Regions from separate parts of the Homo sapiens genome. Here region 1 is linked to region 2. The links are contacts of gene promoters, found by promoter capture Hi-C in human tissues and cell types (Jung and others, 2019). All regions are on one chromosome and are shown on one strand. Each heading gives the region's core, a stretch centred on a gene start or on the middle of the fragment in contact. The rest is flanking DNA. Distances are from core to core; before and after follow the strand shown. Region 1 holds the start of CCL27 (C-C motif chemokine ligand 27). Region 2 overlaps FAM219A (family with sequence similarity 219 member A).

Evidence for each region. The method cuts DNA at HindIII sites, captures the fragments that hold promoters and counts their contacts. A contact is called where the count stands out against the background at its distance.
Region 1: the fragment with the promoter of CCL27 here is called in contact with a fragment that was not itself captured in region 2 in 3 of the 25 tissues and cell types used here (H1 embryonic stem cells, pancreas and spleen).

The regions. Positions count from the first base shown.
Region 1 is chr9:34,661,209-34,663,908 of GRCh38, reverse strand. It overlaps CCL27 (C-C motif chemokine ligand 27), which reads left to right and starts at 1,252. Exons shown (of 3, transcript NM_006664.4): 1 at 1,252-1,345; 2 at 1,493-1,625; 3 at 1,830-2,019. The coding sequence starts at 1,276. The coding sequence ends at 1,965. It overlaps IL11RA (interleukin 11 receptor subunit alpha), which reads right to left. Exons shown (of 13, transcript NM_001142784.3): 13 at 2,007-2,427. The coding sequence ends at 2,411. The HindIII fragment of the contact is 14,352 bases long and covers 1-2,700 here.
Region 2 is chr9:34,447,122-34,449,821 of GRCh38, reverse strand. The region is part of intron 1 of FAM219A (family with sequence similarity 219 member A); the gene reads left to right. Among named protein-coding and RNA genes, the nearest start is that of FAM219A, 10 kb to the left of the region's middle. The HindIII fragment of the contact is 5,527 bases long and covers 1-2,700 here.

The DNA of each region.
Region 1 (2,700 bases), core at 3-2,502, 210 kb before region 2:
TTCTTAAAGGAGCCAGGGGCACTGAACTTGGCAGCATACCCCCACCCTAGGCAGCTCCCAGCTTCCTGGAAAGGACTGGATAAAGATGAATAGGAGCTTTGCATTGCAGGGAGGGGGTAAAGAACGGAGTGACAGCTGGGTATGGGATTAGGAGAGAAGCGGCTATAGCTGGAGGGTGGGATGCAGGGGGTATAGCAGTTGGACATGAGGGTGTGACTGAACCCGGGTAGGGAGAGGGGATGTTCCTCCAGGCCCAGGAAGGAGGCTGGAATTTGAGTAAAACAAAGATGTAATTGAGTGCTTGAGTCCAATGTCTTCAACAAGTCAGGGACTGGATCTGGAGACCCTAGGCCCCTGCTGGCAAGAGGTTGGCATTCCTGGAACAGGACTAGACAAAAACAGGAAGGTAAGATTCACTGGGCCTTTTACCTGTTTTGACAACAGTAACCTAGCACCAAAGAGCTTTTATCTTCCCTCCTTATCTACCCCACCTTTCCTCCCTGTCTCATCATCCTGGGGAAAGCTGCCCCACCTCAGCATCTCCAAAACACCCTTAATATTACCATAAAGGGCCTTCCCCCAGCTTCTCTGAATGGGGCTGGCCTCAGCCAAGAACCCTCCTCAGCCAGAAGGGCCTGCTCTAGGGACCCATTCCCATCCATTTCTTCTGATAAGACAGGCAGGCCAAGCCAGGAAGTGGGGAGGAGAAGGTGAAGGCAAGTTGGTGCTTGCCTGCCCTCTGCTCCCACCCCACCCACAACTCCCCTGTCAGAATCTGTGTGTGCTAGTGTGAATTTGCTTGTGATTGGATGACTGTGAAAACACAATTGGGTGGGAGAGGGACTTTGAGTATAACCGGGGCTATATAATTTTGTCTACGGTTGTCTGATCATGAGTATGACTTTGTGAGGTTGACCAAGTGATTGAGGAGTGACTTTGAATGTGTGGCTATGCGTATTTGAGTGTGAATGTCTATCATTAGATGCTGCTGTGGATGCTTGACTGCCCTTACTCACTGTTCCATCAGTCCCTACATCACACACTAATCCTTCCCCCAGCTTCACTGCCCAGAGCTTAGGAGCACATGGGAAATGGCTATCCTAGATGAGGAAGGAGTCTGTGGCAACAGGCCGAGAATTAGGGCCCAGGAGTGTCACAGGTTACACAGTACATCTCCAACTGCCTCTGACTCACCTAGTGCCCCAGGTAAAAGGCACCCAGATAAAAGGTAGGGGAGGAGGAGAGAGAGAGAAGGAAGAGTCTAGGCTGAGCAACATGAAGGGGCCCCCAACCTTCTGCAGCCTCCTGCTGCTGTCATTGCTCCTGAGCCCAGACCCTACAGCAGGTGAGTACTTGGGGGTATAGAAAGCTGGGGGTCTGGGTGAATGGGATGAAGTTGAAAAGACCCAGGAAATCCAACCTAACCTCCAGCTGTCTGGCAGAGAGGTTCTTGGTCAGGATCCCTCTGAACACATGGCCCTGTTGCCCCTAGCATTCCTACTGCCACCCAGCACTGCCTGCTGTACTCAGCTCTACCGAAAGCCACTCTCAGACAAGCTACTGAGGAAGGTCATCCAGGTGGAACTGCAGGAGGCTGACGGGGACTGTCACCTCCAGGCTTTCGTGTGAGCTCCCACCCCTGATACCCCTGACTCTGACCTCAGTCCCAACCCCTAATGCTGATCCCAACCCCAGCCCTAACTGCTAATTCTGTTGCCAACTCAGGTTTTCATCTGGTCCTTGCTCCTAACCCCTAATTAGGGTCATTGGGGATGACCCTAATCTCATCCCCAAGCTATGGTCATAGCTTTGGACCTTTCTCTACCCAGGCTTCACCTGGCTCAACGCAGCATCTGCATCCACCCCCAGAACCCCAGCCTGTCACAGTGGTTTGAGCACCAAGAGAGAAAGCTCCATGGGACTCTGCCCAAGCTGAATTTTGGGATGCTAAGGAAAATGGGCTGAAGCCCCCAATAGCCAAATAATAAAGCAGCATTGGATAATAATTTCTGAGTATAATCTCCAAGAACTTCCTTATTCTCTTTATTCACACCTGCACAACCCCTGCAAGGGGAAAGGCCAAGAGCCAAGGACCCACACACACTCCCCAGGCACCTACATACATGCATGCAGAGAATACATGTTCCCTGCCTCACAGACACATGGTCACACATGGACACAGATGTACACATTACACACGTTCCTTGAGCAGAACTCCAACTCTGGGGTGAAATCAGAGGTACAAGCACCTTTCAGCTGCAAATTTGAAATACAGGGTCTCACAGAAATGGGCTCCAAACAGAACTTCCAGCTGAGATCCAACCATAGGGATCTACTGTCCTGCCTGGTTTCTATCCACACCAGCAAGACAGAATTATAGGTGGAATCTGCCGAAGCCCTCCTGGGTCCTCTACAGGTTTGGAGCTCCTAGAAGAAGCAGGAGGCAAATCAGGAGAGACAGTAAGACCGGATCTTGGCCCAGACACCCTGAGAATGAGGGAGGTGACTCAGTTCTAAGCTTAACACTCTGAAGATGAGTAGAGGAGCCCAGCTCTGAGGGAGCCTCTTCAACACACTGAAGATACGGGAGTGGACCTAGCTCTGGGCCCAGGCACATTAAGAATGAAGGAGGGGACCTAGCACTGATCCAAGACACCTTGAAAAAAAAGGATGAATATCCAGCTCTGAGTCTAATACCCT
Region 2 (2,700 bases), core at 76-2,575:
GTTTTAAAGACTCTGAGATATCCTGCAGTAAAGGAACCTTTTCAACTTTGTTTAATTCAGTGTTTCCCAAGCTTATTTAACTATAGAACCTTTTTTCATGTTACATCTGTTAACATCTTACAGAACCAATGTGTTTCATGGGAAATACTCTTTGGAAAACTTTAGCTTAGAAATTAGTATCTGTGCTGATCCAGTCTAGATTTATAGTCTTCCTAGTTCTTTTAAATGTCTTTTATAACCCACACCATTTTGCCCTATGCTAGTTAGTGTCTAATGGGATGTTGCTGATTTGTTTCAGGGTCTGAACTTGCTATTAGTAGGAAGCTCTTGGTGAACTTTGGTTAGGTGCACAGGCAAATACCAAGTGCCTTGTTTTTCTCATAATATTTCTAAGGGAGTTTTATTTCCCTTATGTCCCTCTACCAAATGCTGGTTTGATCCTTATTTTTTTTGGACAACTTTATTGAGATATAATTTATATATTGTATACACTAGCCATTTAGTACTTTACTGTTTTTTGAGACACAGTTTCACTCTGTCTCCTACAGCCTTGACCTTCCCCAGCTCAGGTGATCCTCCCACCTCAGCCTCCCAAGTAACTAGGACTACAGGTGTGCACCACCATGCCCAGCTAATTTTTGTTTTTTTCTGGTAGAGATGGGGTTTCGCCATGTTGCCCAGGTTGGTCTCAAATTCCTGGGCTCAAGAGATCCACCTGCCATGTCCTCCCAAAGTGCTAAGATTACAGGTGTGAGCCACTGCACCCAGCTAGTACTTTACTTTTAAACCAGTGTGGCTATCCCATGGCTGAGGTTTTTTTTTTTTTTCCGATAGTTTTTGGGGAACAGGTGGTTTTTGGTTATGTGGATAAGTTCTTTGGTAGTAATTTCTGAGATTTTGGTGCACCTGTCACCCAAACAGTGTACAATGTACCCAACATGTAGTCTTTTATCCCTCATCCTTCTCCCACCCTTCCCCTGTGAGTCCCCAGAGTCCATTATATCATTCTTATGCCTTTGTGTCCTCATAGCTTAGCTCCCACCATGGCCTAGTTCTATTTCTCATTTTTACCTTGGGCTGTGCTCTATGCTTTTATGTTCTGCCAAGCAGTAGAGAAGATAAAGATAATCCAAATCTTTTATCAGGAAGAATCCCATCTCAATTGAGATTTAAGGTGAAAAGTGGATTCCCCGATTAGGGGATGTTTCAGTACTTCCTCTGCAGTATCAATAAATGTTCTCACTGTTCACAACAGCTCAAGAAACATTCCTGCATAATTATTTTATACCCTCCTACTCCACAGGCTACATAAAGCATGGATGATAAACAGGCATTACCCTTCATGCCAATGCCCCTTGATCAGTAGTTGCTGCCTGGAGCATTGTGTTAAGATGGATGCTAAGGTGGACTCCTGGTTCCATATGAAAGACTGACATGGTTTGGTTGATTTTCCATGTCTGCTATGGTCTTCAGCAGGGGGAACAACAGTTCTAGTATTCTGGTTGCCATCCCAGCGGCCCTGAATCATCATAGTTATCTTGGGCAAAGAACACAGGAAAGGGGAACTCTTGGGGATGTTAGCCAGCCAAGCAATCTGTTTCACTGAGGGGCTAAAGTCTTATCATATGGCTCCTTAAGAAATGAATAAAGGGGCCAGGTGCAGTGGCTCATGCCTGTAATCCCAGTGCTTAGAGAGGCCAAGGCGGGAGGATTGCTTAAGGCCATCAATTCGAGACCAGCCTGGGCAACATAGTGAGACCCTGTCTCTACAAAAAATTAAAAAGTAGCCAGGCATGATGATGCATGCCTGTAGTCCTAGCCATTAGGGAGGCTGAGGTGGGAGGATGGCTTGAGCCCGGGAGTTCGAGGCTGCAATGAGCTATAATTGCACTATTACACTCTAGCCTAGGCAACAAAGCAAGACCCTGTCTTAAAAAAAAAAAAATGAAGAAAACTGTTTTTTTCTACTTGATCTTCAGCACTGGTTTCTGAAGTATTGAATTAATATAAAGTTTAAAATCCTTTTGAAATAAATAGGCCAGGTGAGAGGGAGTAACCTGGACTCTGCTGAGCAGATAAGAGGGGGAAAGAAGCAGATTCAGGAAAAGATCTCATGAATTTCATATGAGTGGTTGGCCACACTTAATATGAAATTATAAGCCCTTGACCAAAGAAGCAAGAAGGAATAGGCTACAAGAAGAGACCCATAAGCCAGAAGTCACTGGCGAGGAAAGGCCCTATTATAGGTTATACAGCCTTAGCGCTCTTTTGTTTACCCAGGCTAAATAGGCCTGCTTTTTCCTTTTACCATTTCCCGGGACACTGGCTTCCAAATTCGCAGTCATCCTAGCTGCCCTAGTGGATACTTTTAGGTTTCTCACCCCTGAAACTGAACACAGAGCTGTACATGTGATCTGCACAGCACAGATTATTGTGGGACTGCCACTACCCATAATATTGATATTGTACTTCTATTATTGTCAGTTGAGCTTCCATGATCATATTTAATAACCATACCTATTGTTATATTGAACTCAGAACATATCTGGAACAGAGCAGCCCTTTCCCTTAGCAGTGTAAAATCAAGGCAAGAACCTGGAATCACATCTTGAGCTAGGCTTACTGCCAATACAGGTTAAGAGTCCACTGAGGATAGTGAGATGATGGTTCCACATTTGTTAGAAACTACACTACATGTGT